2 separate regions of the Homo sapiens genome follow, and region 1 is linked to region 2. The links are contacts of gene promoters, found by promoter capture Hi-C in human tissues and cell types (Jung and others, 2019). All regions are on one chromosome and are shown on one strand. Each heading gives the region's core, a stretch centred on a gene start or on the middle of the fragment in contact. The rest is flanking DNA. Distances are from core to core; before and after follow the strand shown.

The links. Contacts are between HindIII fragments. The study calls those that stand out against the background at their distance.
Region 1: a contact is called between a fragment that was not itself captured here and the fragment with the promoter of MXD3 in region 2, in 2 of the 25 tissues and cell types used here (bladder and pancreas).

The regions. Positions count from the first base shown.
Region 1 is chr5:177,207,943-177,214,701 of GRCh38, reverse strand. NSD1 (nuclear receptor binding SET domain protein 1) reads right to left here. Exons shown (of 23, transcript NM_022455.5): 5 at 2,507-5,066. Among named protein-coding and RNA genes, the nearest start is that of NSD1, 78 kb to the right of the region's middle. The HindIII fragment of the contact is 5,708 bases long and covers 1-5,305 here.
Region 2 is chr5:177,310,632-177,317,309 of GRCh38, reverse strand. MXD3 (MAX dimerization protein 3) reads left to right here and starts at 5,412. Exons shown (of 6, transcript NM_031300.4): 1 at 5,412-5,549; 2 at 5,826-5,931; 3 at 6,613-6,642. The coding sequence starts at 5,480. RefSeq lists enhancers at 4,278-4,337, 5,988-6,187, 6,445-6,678 and silencers at 4,558-5,127, 5,258-5,437. The HindIII fragment of the contact is 13,092 bases long and covers 1-6,678 here.

The DNA of each region.
Region 1 (6,759 bases), core at 1,202-3,701, 100 kb after region 2:
AGTAAGACTCTGTCTCAAAAAAAAAAAAAAAAAGGTGATCCTGTCATATGCTACAACATGGATGAACCTTGAAAACATTATGCTAAGTGAAATGTGAAATAACCCAATCACAAAACAACAAATACTGCATGATTCCACTTACATGAGATGTCTAAAGTAATCAAATTCACAGAAGCAGAAAGAATGTTAGTTGTCATGGATTGAACAAAGGAGAAAATCAGGAGTTGTTGTTCAATGGGTATAGAGTCTCAGTCAAGCAAAACGAAAATGTCCTGGAGATCTGCTGTTGTACATGTACATGATTCATGACACTATAATACACACTTAAATACTGTTTTTTTGTTTGTTTATTTTGAAATGGGGTTTCGCTCTGTCTCCCAGGCTGGAGTGCAGTGGCGCAATCTCAGCTCACTGCAACCTCCACTCACTGCAACCTCCACCTCCCGGGTTCAAGTGATTCTCCTACCTCAGCCTCCCGAGTGGCTGGTATTACAGGAGCGCGCCACCATGCCCAGCTAATTTTTGTATTTTTAGTAGAGATGGGGTTTTGCCATGTTGGCCAGGCTGGTCTTGAACTCCTGACCTCAGGTGATCCATCAGCCTTGGCCTCCCAGAGTGCTGGAATTACAGGCGTGAGCCACCGCACCTGGCCGTAAATACCGTTAAAGAGTAAATCTCACTCTAGCCTGGGCAACAGAGCCAGACCCTATCTCAAAAAAAAAACCAAAAAAGGTACATTTAGGTTACATGCTTTTTAACCATAATTTTAGAAGAAGACAGAAGAACTGATACATACTACAAGAGGCATGAACCAGAAAACATTAAACTAAGTAAGGGAAACCAGACCCAAAAGGACCATATATTGTATGATTCCATTTCTATGAAATGTACACAATAGACAAATCTACAGATTGGTAAAAACTGAAGGCAGGGCTGGGCACAGTGGCTCACGCCTGTAATCCCAGCACTTTGGGAGGTGGAGGCGGGCGGATCACAAGGTCAGGAGATCAGAGACCATCCTGGCTAACACAGTGAAACCCCGTCTCTACTAAAAATACAAAAAAAAATTAGCTGGGTGTGGTGGCGGGCGCCTGTAGTCCCAGCTACTCAGGAGGCTGAGGCAGGAGAATGGCGTGAACCCGGGAGGCGGAGCCTGCAGTGAGCCGAGATCACGCCACGGCACTCCAGCCTGGGTAACAGAGCGAGACTCCGTCTCAAGAAAAAAAAAGAAAAAAAAACCTGAAGGCAGATTGACAAGAGTTCTGTGTTTCTGTCTGGGATGATGCAAATATTCCACAATTGATCGCACTGATTGTTGCACAACTCTGTGACTATACTACAAACCACTCAATTAAAAACGTTAAAAGCTGAATTTTATGATATGATAACTGCATTTTCAATAAAGCTGTTAGAGAAAAATCTACTATGATACACAGTTTTGAGAATCTTATGTTAATGGATATTGCTGTAAAAAAGAAAAAAATATGTATATACATGTATACACACACTGCTTTATCCTCAACTGTATACTGTGTAATGTTAGTATCTTGAAAGATTTCTGTTTTCCATCTGCTGCTAGGTACAACACTTGGGTACTTCTGGTATTTTTATTTGTTCATAATCCTCATTCCAGTAGGAATTTAAGACACCTAAGACCTTCAAATAAGTACTACAGAATACTTGCAGTTTTTTCAAAAGCGCATGTGGTTCATCAAATTGTCCACAAAACAGAAGGACCTATCTTAAGTAATGGTCAAAGAAAACCTAACATCCAGCCAGATGCAGTGGCTCACGCCTGTATCCCAGCACTTTTGGTGGGCGGATCACTTGAGTTCAGTTCAAGACCAGCCTGGCCAACGTGGTGAACCCTCATCTCTACTAAAAATACAAAAATTACCAGGTATGGTGGCGGGTGCCTTAAGAAAAAAAAAAGAAACTACCATCCAATAGAATCTATTTGCTTTCTATAACCTAACAACTGGATTTAAATCCTAGGATCGGAGCCTCTCAATTACTTGCAGTTACATATTGAGTCCCAAAAAGCTTGGGGATTTTAAAAGGTAAGAAACGGGGAACAGGTCAGGCAAGAGTAATCCCAGCACTTTAGGAGGCAAAGGCTGGCAGATGGCGTGAACTCAGGAGTTTGAGACCAGCCTGGGCAACACAGTGAGACCCTGTCTCAAAAGAAAAAAAAAATTAGAAAAAAAAAAAAAAGAGAGAGAGAGAAAGAGAGAGAGAGAAAGTGAGAAAGAAAGATGTTATAGAGATTTACTTGAAAAGGTTGGGGAAAAGGGCTTCTGGTAAAGTTTAACTTTTGAATATATATGGAAATCTCATCTTCAAAATTCAGACCTTTCTACATAAAACTCCTTCTTCATTGAAGTGATGATTCTTCCCCGCTAGTTTATACTTCACTTTACCATTACAACAGACCAATTTCAGAAGGACAATGTTTATCAGCACTTTCTCCAATTTTTTTTTTTTTATCACATTTAGATGTCCTTACCTGGTTCAGGGAGCTCAGCCTGTGGTGTCAAACTGGGAATTCCTGGCTCCTTTTCCATGTCACCAATGCTGGCACTGGATTTATCACAAACATTTAACCGTGGCCCAGCTGAATCTAAGCAGTCAGCATGATTTTGCTCTGTCAGTGGTTCCTCAAGTATGCTTGCTGAAGGAGTTCTATGCTCTGGAAACTCATCCCGCCCCTCCTGCACAGGGTCACTAGGAAGTAAGACCCTAAAGGCACACTCAGAGTTTTCTTTCTCTTTAAATCTGTTCATGCGCTTACGAGGTTTAGTGCGCCTTTGGTTTAAACGCTGCCACCGCTTTTTAGGCACCACTTGATTTACACCATTGAGTTCATCATTCTCACTGTTCATTACAGAGTCCAGCTCTGGGCCTTTTCCGTTTTCAAAAGAGAGTCCTTTTTCAGAAATTTTACCAGGATCAGATTGCTTAACCTTGCTATCGAAATGCACATCAGAAAAATGGTCACCATCTTCACTTGTTAAGTGGCCCATTATCTGAAGGGGATCCTCTTTACTAGGATCTTCTGCCCCACCTCTCAATGAACCTCCACGTTCTCGGTCTCCCTGCAGTACAGCATCAAGAGTCACACTTGGAAGCTGATTCAGTTTTCTTTTGCGCTCGGTCTTTAAGGCTTTACGGTTCACTGTGTTCTTTACCATTTGGGCTGAAAAAGCATCTCGCAATTTGGATGAAGGCTTTGATCGTCCACAGTTGCGCCTAGTAACACAGTCTGAACGACTTTTACCAGAAGCAGGGAGGTCTCTCTTGTCGGACAGTAAGCCAGGTAGGGAAGCAGACAACTCGCCAGATAATGCAGAGTCACCCCCACTAGGGCTAGGATTGGCGGAGTTCTGAGTGCCATCTCCCTTTTTCTCTGAATTGTGTGTGGAGCCTCCTGAAACCAAAACCTTAGAGACTCCTACAGGACTATTAGTAGAACAGTCCCCACGACCAGGACTCCGGTAAGAGACCAGGTTTTGAGCAGTCATCAACCGCTGCTCCTTCGTCTTACTATCATGCATATCTTTCAACATCATTAGCAATGTACTGAATTTGTAGTCTGGTTCAATAGGTATGTGATTCTGACTAGAAGCAGAAGAGAAAAGTAATGGTTTTGATGGCTTTGATGTTCCAGAGTCACTGACATCCTCACCTAAGGATCTGTAAGAGAGTTCCTTCAACTCGGATAAAACATGTTTCACCACTGCTGTTTCTATGTCACTTGAATCCCTGGTTTTCTCATGCATATTGTTCAGTAGTTTTAGACCATCCACTTTCCCACTTTTAGAAATGCTGGCCAAAGGAGAGCCTTTGGTATCAGAAGAGCAGCATTTCAAACTGCACTCCTCATTTATAACTGGGGGTTCTGCCATAACTGGATTTTCTTTGTGTTTGCACTTTATACTTCGGAACTTGGGCTGTTTGCTTTTCGAATGTAATAGAGCTTGATTTGCTGCCCCACCCTTTATTAACGAGTTCTCACTGGATATGCTTGATGACAGGTTGAATTTTGGAGAGAGAGCATCATTTGTAAAATCTGACTGGGGTTTGTGAACAAGAGTAGATGCCTTCAGATCAGAGAGATTAACCTGAGACGTCTCGGTTCCAGGCTCTGCACTCTTAGTACAACCCATTAAGTGGTCTGTATGTGAGTTACTAATGAGAGGCTTCTGTTTTGCTTTTACCCTAGTGTTTGTGGCAGCAAACCTAGAATACTTTATCTTTTCATTTTTCTGCATAGATAACATGTTCTCTGTTCTATCGAAAGCATCTGGAATTTCAAGGACACTGTTATCAGACTCTGAGCTGTGTTCTATGGGATCCAGGTCACTGCTTCCATCATCAGAAGTGGTACAGATACTAATGGAATCACTTCGCTTTTCCTCATCACCTGCTCCAATATAGCAGAGCTTCACTTTTGAACCACACACCAGGCTTCGTTGGGGTTTATTCTTCTCTCGAGAACACTTTGAGATCAAAGCACCCTCAGGCAAGCCCAATAAAGAGTCACCATTTGAAGTCTCAAATTCTTTCTTTGCAGTGTTTTTTCCACAGGAAGAAAACAGAAAACTTCCTGGGGCAGTGTTGGACCCTGTGAGGCTATTTGCTATCCTGGAAAGTTCATTAGAGGCCTGCGTATCAGATATATCCCCAGAGATAAAGTTTAGGCCAAGGTTCTCTGGAATCTTTCCCCTCCGTTCATCTTTATGTGCTTCAAATTGTATGTGGCCCTTTTTCACACTAGTCCTTTTTGGATTATCAGAGCTCTTTCTGGCTCGAGATTTAGCGCAAGGCTTTTCCTTCTCATCTGCAGAATGTTCAGAATCAAAAGCCAGTGATTTCAAACAGCCATTAAGCAACAGGTCATGTTCTGACTCAGGATCATTTGTGCAGTCTTCAAATGGCATATCTTCTTCACTGTCCAACTTGATTGAACCAGGAATACATTTTCGGTTCTTTGACCCCTTGGGAACATCATACTGTTCTGCAAGTCCAACACTGGCTTCCCATTTACTCAAAATTTTCTGAGGAACCTTAAATTTAAAGGAGAAAAAGAATTATCACTTATCAAAGAAATGGGTGGGGGAAAAGGGAGATGAAATCAGAAGCTTTTTTTTTTATTCCTTTTTTTTTTTTTTTTGAGACAGAGTCTTGCTCTGTCGCCCAGGCTGGAGTGCAGTGGCACAATCTTCGCTCACCACAACCTCTGCCTCCCGGGTTCAAGTGATTCTCCTTCCTCAGCCTCCCGAGTAGCTGGGATTACAGGCACCCGCCACCACACCCAGCTAATTTTTTGTATTTTCAGTAGAATAGGGGTTTCACCATATTGGCCAGGCTGGTCTCAAACTCCTGACCTGAAGTGATCCGCTCACCTCAGCCTCCCAAAGTGCTGGGATTACAGCTATGAGCCACCGCACCCGGCCTGAAATCAGAAGCTTTTACAAACCTGTCAGGCCTCCTGCTTTTATGGAACCAGCCAGGTAGTTAGCACCTGAGCTCAAGCAGCATCTGAATCACCCTAATGGAGCTTCCTCAAAAATACTTCTGCTAATAAGATTATGTCATTAGAGTAAGGACTGATCTCACAAACACTCCACCCTCCCTGCATTTATAAGCACAAAGCAGAATATAGACTAAAACTGGTAACATTACATTTCTAAATTAAAGAATACTTGGCCGGGTGTGTGGCTCACGCCTGTAATCCCAGCACTTTCAGAGGCTGAGGAGGACGAATCACCTCAGGTCAGGAGTTCAAGACAACCCTGGCCAACATCGCCAAACCCCATCTCTACTAAAAATAAAAAAATTAGCCAGGTGTGGTGGCAGACACCTATACTCCCAGCTACTGTGGAGGCTGAGGCAGGAGAATCACTAGCACCCGGGAGTTGGAGATCACGCCATTGCACTCCAGCATGGGGGACAGAGCAAGACTCCATCTCAAAAAATTAATTAATTAATTAATTAATTAAGGAATATGAAGGCCAAACACATGTTCAGTTGCATAAAAAAGAAAGTAGGGAGGCTAAGACACGAGAATCATTTGTACCCAGTAAGTGGAGGCTCCAGTGAGCTGAGATCACGCCACTGTACTCCAGCCTGGGTGACAGAGCAAGACTCTTTCTCAAAAAGAAAAAAGAAAAGAAAAAAAGAAAAAGAAAAACCAAGAAAAAAAAAAGAAAAAGAAAAAAAGGTTAAAGATGATGAATATAGAAAAAACAGGATAAGAGGAATCAGCAGGTTTGATCTACCTCCCTAGGGAACTTGAAATTTGAAATTCTAGTTATCACTAGCCACCTGGCTAATCAAGAATCGACTATAAATGTTAAATATAACCTGGATTATAACCAAGCCATCTCCTAGGCTTCATCATGTAATCCAGAGCTATTATACTGATGACACCATGGGTATTACATTATCTTTTCTGGATACCTCACAGCATGAAAACATTGAGACTCTGAAATACAGCTAATTTTTCAGACTCTTATTTTCTTCCTTACCTCCATACAATAGGTATTAGTCAAGATTCTAACTACCACATAGTGTTCACAAATAGTTTAATATTTGTGAAGGGGATGTTCTGCAGAGCAAGTAAACATTCAGATCATTGCTGGGGATGGTGGCTCATGGCTGTACTCCCAGGACTTTGAGAGGCTGAGGCAGGTGGATTACATGAGCTCTGGAGTTCAAGACCAACCTGGGTAACACAACCAGACCCTGTCTCTACTA
Region 2 (6,678 bases), core at 4,163-6,662:
TGGACTGAGTCTAGACATGTTCCCCTTGCACCCTCTGAGGCACAAAACACCAGTAACTGTTCTGTCTGTCAACGAGAGGCTTGATAGGCAAGTCACACTGAAGCCTGTAGCCCCAGGAAGTGTAAGTCGTGGCAGGAACAGTCACTCTGCACACTGGGCTCAGCTTCCCTGTGGTAGATGCAAATGCTCACAGCACAGTAAAAGGACTGGAACTCAGCTGAGCGCAGTGGCTCACGCCTGTAATCCCAGCATTTTAGGAGGCCGAGGTGGGCAGATCACCTGAGGTCAGGAGTGCGAGACCAGCCTGGCCAACATGGTGAAACCCTGTCTCTACTAAAAATATAAAAATTAGCCGGGCATGGTGGCAGGTGCCTGTAATCTCAGCTACTTGGGAGGCTGAGGCAAGGGAATCGCTTGAACCCAGGAGGTGGAGGTTGCAGTGAGCCGAGACCGCGCCATCCATTGCCCTCCAGCCTGGGGGACAAGAGCGAGACTTCATCTCAAAAAAAAAAAAAAAAAGGTACCAATTTGGACTCTGCCAGGTCACATTTCTTCAGACCAAGGAACACATTTTACAGCACATAGTGTCCAACAGTGGCGGAGACATCCTCCCCAGAGTGATGGTTTGATGAAGAATTGGAATAGGCAAGTGAAACATTTGTTGACTGAAATAGGAAAAGCCAGGCAAGGTGGCTCATGCCTGTAATCCTAGCACTTTGGGAGGCCGAGGCAGACGGATTGCTTGAGCTCAAGAGTTTGAGACCAGCCTGGGCAACAATGGCAAAATCCTGTCTCTACAAAAAATACAAAAAATTAGCTGGGCGTGGTGTTGCACACCTGTAATCCTAGCTACTCAGGAGGCTGAGGCAGGAGGATCACCTGAGCCTGCGAGGTCAAGGCTGTAGTGAGCTGTGTTCATACCACTGCACTCCAGCCTGGGCAACAAAGTAAGACCCTTCATATATTACCAAGTTGGGCAACATACATGAAATTGGGGTTAGAGTAGGGAAGTATGGGTAGAATAAGACAGGAAAAATATTTGAAGAGATAAGAACTGAAAACTTTTGCAGAAGCTCAAGACACCCCAGGCAAGGCAAGCACCAAGAAAACCACACCCAGGCGTGTCACAGCCAACAGTTGAAAACCAAAGGTGAAGAGAAAATATTAAAAGCAGATAGAGGATAACAATACATTATATCCAGTGGAAAAATAAGACTTTCAGCTGACTTAGAAAAAATGCAAATCAGGCCGGGTGCGGTGGCTCAAGCCAGTAATCCCAACACTTTGGGAGACTGAGGGGGGCAAATCACCTGAGGTCAGGAGTTCAAGACCAGCTTGGCCAACATGGTGAAACCCCATCTCTACAAAAAATAAAAAAATTAGGCATGGTGGCATGCAGCTGTGGTCCCAGCTACTTGGGAGGCTGAGGCGGGAGAATTGCTTGAGCCCAGCAGGTCAAGGCTGCAATGAGCCCTCATTGTGTCACTGCACTCCAGCTGGGTGACAGCAGAAGACCCCACCTCAAAAAAAAAAAAAAAAAAAATGGCCATACTACTGAGCCTACAGAGGCCTGTTTGCAGTGTTCCTCCCCGGATAGCAGGGGCTGCCAGGCACTTCTGAGACCTGTCTAGCCAGGGCTGGCCTCTTGGCTTAGCCCCTGTGACACCAAGCGAGGGACCGGCTGGCACCCAACTCCTGATCATTATGCTGCACTGCCACAACAGCTGGGGTTGGCGGGGGGGGGGGGTGCGTTCCAGAGGTGGCCTCTGTGTGGGGGTCTGCTGACTGCTTCTTCTGACATCCTATGGGCATGGAGACACAGGCCCACCAGCCCTTCCCTACCCCTTGCCTATGGCTTGGCCAAGCCCCTGTTCGGCATTGGTTTGCTCTGTCGCTGAGGTCGTAGTCTGCAGGAAGAGGCTGACCCTGAGAGATGCAGGGCCCACTGCTACTTGGGAGAATGCGCTGAAGGAGGGAGGCCTGGGAACCTCCTGGAGCAAGTGACATTGAGCAGAGATGGCAGAGGCAGGGAGGTGGGCAAGGCCATGGCATGTCCCCTGCCCAGCTCAAACTTTGTCCTGAAGGCCATGGGAGCGTGGGCCTTCAGCGGGGGCATGAGGCCTTCAGTGGGGGCGTGACCTGGTTAGCTCTGTGACTGGGGAGTGCTGCTCTCTGGGAGAGGGGAGGCTGCGGGCAGCCCAGGGAGGAGGCTGGGCAGGGTTCCAGGGTCGGAGCCAGGCTCCCGACTCCCCCGATGACTCTTCCTTGCAGGGGAGAAGGGGAAAGGGATCTGGGGAACGCAGGGCCATCTCCTCCTGCACCATGGAGTGTCCATGGAGTGGAGGAGGACGGTGAGCCCAGGATTGGCTCCCCTCTTCAAGGGGTCCTAACTGGGACAAAGGCCTGGGGCGGGGGGGTCTCCCTTCTCCCCTTCCACTCAGGGCACAGATGCAGACTCTGTCCTTGGAGCCCAGAGGACCATAGACCCGGGTAGAGTCTGCACTGCAAGTACAGGCAGCAGAACCCCAGTTACAGTGGGCTGGTGGAGGCAGGAGGTCACAGGGCGAAGCGCAGGACCCTGCGGACTCCAGGGCAGAGGATCTGGGCTGGTCACTGCTGGGGGGGCACTGCAGCTCCTCTGTCCAGTCCTGTGCCTAGAGGCCACTAGCTCTAGCATTTTCTCACAGGGGCCCAGGGGACATCCAAGGGCTTGGGGCAGGATCCCTGCTGGTCCAGGCTGGATCCCCCCATGCCCCGTCCCATCCTGTTCCTGGGGAGGTATTGTTCCTGTCTGGCCTGGCCGGTGGCCTTGACCCCAGCCCACATGCTGTCCCTGGCTCAAAACCGCTCTGCAGCTCCTAGGATGAAGTCCAAACTCCTTGACATGAGCCCTCCAGCCCCTCTGCAGCCCCACCCCGACTCCCACCACCTCCTGGCCATGTCTTCAGCTCACATATGCTTCCTTCTTTCCCTTTGCTGAAAATTCTCCTCCTTCAGAACCTCCCCACCCCTATCCCACCCAGACTGGAGGCCAGGCCACCTAGGGCCCAGACATCTGAGTAGGTTCGTGTCTGCACTGCATGGTGCTGACTTTAGTGAAATAAAATTGGAAATTCATTCACAACCCTTGCGGCTCCTTCCTTCAGAGATGGCTGATTGCAGGGGGGAGTTTGGGGGAACCCATCAGCATGTTCTGGGCCCTGCAGCCTCTCCAGTGTCAGCCTGCACCAGGCTATTTGCTCTCTGTAAGCCACACCGCCCCTGCCATGCTCCTTTCAGCCCCAGGGCCTTTGCATGTGCTGTTCCTTTGTCTAGAATTCTTTCATCTCTCCTATACTTAGATAACACCTCTTCATCCATTTCCCCAGTAAAGCCTTCTCTGGCCTCACCAATTAGGTCAAATGTTCCTTAGAATGTGTTGTGGGGCATGGTCTCTCCCTGTGAGGACCTGTCCAGCTGGACCTCCGCCTTCCTGCGACTGTATTGGTGTCTTTCCCTCTCAAGCCTATGAGCTCTGCAAGGGCAGGGACCCTGTATGATTTTGCCTATCGTATGTCCTCCAGCCCCCAGCACAGCGCCTGGTGTCCAGTGAGAGCTCAGCAAATACTTTGTGAGTTAAGGACAGGCGGCTGGGTAGATGGATCGTCTGCCTAGACAGGGCAGTTATTCCGCTGTGAGCAACTCTTAGAGAAACTTCATTTTTTTTCGGCGCCTGGCCGAAACTTCAAGATGTTTCCCGGCCAGGAACGGTGGCTCACACCTGTAATCCCAGCACTTTGGGAGGCTGAGGTGGGTGGATCACCTGAGGTCAGGAGTTCGAGACCAGCCTGGCCAACACGGTGAAACCCCGTCTCTACTAAAAATACAAAAATTAGCTGGGTGTGGTGGTGGGCGCTTGTAGTCTCAGCTACTTGGGAGGCTGAGGCAGGAGAATTGCTTGAACCCGGGAGGCGGAGGTTGCAGTGAGTCGAGACTGAGCCATTGCGCTTCAGCCTGGGCAACAGAGCAAGACTCAAAAAAAAAAAAAAGATTTTTCCCAAGGAACTGAGGCCTGACTGACATGTGCTTGTGTTTACCAGGACTGTCTCTTTACAGAGCATCTATCCCTCCCACCTTCCCTCCCCTCTCTATTTTGGGATTACTGGAGTCACAGACTCAGCCCGTGGCTGGCAGCAATGCTCCACCCTGCTACAGCTGCGTTCATCTTCCTGTCCCCAGATGTGGCCCCACCTGCTGGTGCTGAGGCTAGAAGTCATCACAGCCACTCCTTCGGCCGGCTAGGAGAGTCAGGTGCAAGAAGGGTTTATGGACTCTGAGTAAGGCAAGCAGGGGCTGCCTGGGAGGCAAACGCCGCGGTCTGGTTGCACTGGCCTTTGAGATGGGCGGCTCCTTCATGCCATGGGCACCGCAGAGGCATTGGCTCTGATCCTTCAACGCTGTCGCAGGGCTCCTGAGGCTTAGAGACGGAGGTCACCTCCTGAGTCATACACAGCTGAGACATCAGTGACAGGAGAGGACCCCAACTGCGTGGATACCAGAGCCCAAGGCCCCGGAAAAGGCCATTTCGCGTGCCTCCAGGGTATGGCCTGCCTGAGGAAGCTGTTACCCCACTGACGTTTTCGTAGCAACAACAGCTTCCTCACAGAAGAGGAGGGGGGCCGAGATATTATTCCCATTCGACACAGTAGGAAGCTGGGGCCCACGGGGGCCTTCGGGGGCAGATGGCAGGCAGGCTTGGGGACAGACCCCGGAGGGCAGGAGCCGGGTCCGCCGCCCCTCCGCCGGCGCCTGCGCATTGAGGCCCAGCTCCCCTCTCAACCCCGCCCCATCGCTTGGGTTTTCAAATTTGAAACCTGCTTCTTTTCCCGCCCGAACGTGTGGATCAGCGGCGGGAGAGGGCGGGGCAGAGCGCCAGCCAATAGGGCATCAGAGGCTCCCCGACCCCGCCCCGAGGATGACAACAGCGATCCTTGAGAAGCCATGTGCGAATGGGCGAGCGGCGGCCGGAGGCCCCGCCCCCGCGGCACCCACGTGCAGCGGCTGGGCCCGGCGCTTTCAGGGGACCACCAGGCCCCCAGAGCGCCGTGCTATGTTGGGGGCTAGTCACTAGCACGGGGCTGGAAGCTGAGATCAAAGACGCCAATGAGCCGGCGTGGGTGGATGAGTGAGGCGGGCAAGAAGCAGCACCGGTTAGCCTGAGGGTTCGCTCCAGGGCCAGGCCTGGAGCCAGCGCCCTTACCTGCCCCTGGAAAGTCTGAGACCACTCGGGGCGGGGCGGCTGCCGGAGGGTGGGCTGCGGCTCCGTGGCGGGTTCCAGAGGGGCGGAGCCAAGGGCTGGGCGTTCCCGCGGGCGGGGCGTCCCGGGGGCGGGGCGGGCCCCTGTGTTTGTTGCACCGTGTCAGTTACTTTGTAACAAAAGTGCTGCAGCCGCTTGCTCCGGCCGGCACCCTAGGCCGGCCCGCCGCCAGCTGTCGCCGACATGGAACCCTTGGCCAGCAACATCCAGGTCCTGCTGCAGGCGGCCGAGTTCCTGGAGCGCCGTGAGAGAGGTGAGGAAGGACCCTTGGCTGAATTCCGGGCGGCGACCTCGCTGACACGGGCCTGGACTGGACCTGGCTCCCAGCTTGAAGGATGCACCGCCCTAGGACAGTAATCCCGGGGCGCCTCGCCCTCAACTCGAGAGGAGTCCCGGGGCGGTAGAGCAGGGACGGGTGGGGGAAATGGTCCTGGCGCCAAAAGCCTTTCCTTGACCGTGCTGTGCCTGGGGCTGCCGCTGGGACCAGGTCCAGCCCCAGCCTGACGCGGGCGGGGACTCTCTCTGGCAGAGGCCGAGCATGGTTATGCGTCCCTGTGCCCGCATCGCAGTCCAGGCCCCATCCACAGGAGGAAGAAGCGACCCCCCCAGGCTCCTGGCGCGCAGGACAGCGGGCGGTGAGGAGGCCGGGGGCGGCGGGAGTGGGGGTGGGGGTGGGCGCCGCCCCTGGTCGGGCCCTCCTCTGCCCACTTGTTGCTTGCATCTTTTGGGCCAGGTGTCCCGCTCCAGGAAGCGTTCAGACCCCTCCTGCCATCTCCCCACTCTCCAAACACACTCACACCTTTCTATTCATTCAAGGACTATTTCTTGAGCACCTCTAGATGTGCCGGGAACTGCCAACAGCAGTTGGGGTCCCGCTTCCACTCGCACTCCCGCACCCCACACATCAGGCCACTCACCTCCCCCGCTGGCTTCCTCCTCTTCTCTCCTCTCCCCAGCCCTTTGCATATGCTGTTCCCTCCTATTTGAATGCCCCTCCCTCCAGTACCGGCTTGGGAAACATCTGTTTCCGCAGTTAGCTGTCACCTCTGGGAGGTCCTTTCTGGCCAGCTGGCAGGCGCCCTTGTTAGGGCCCTCATACCCACCTGGGCAGGCTTCTGTTAAGCATTTGGCTCCGTGTGTCTTTGACTCCCCTCGCCCTGCCAGGGGACTCTGGTGTCTGAGGCCAGCATGAGCTCTCCACAGGGGACTTGTTTGGGGCAGACATCTGTAGTGGCTCTTGAGCCACTGGGGGCCCTGGGATTGGGGCATGGGCAGTAGCTGATTCCCCTTCACCTCATCCTCTCTGGCATTGGCAGGTCAGTGCACAATGAACTGGAGAAGCGCAGGTGAGTCCCAGTCCTGCCCTGACAGCGCCAGCCCCC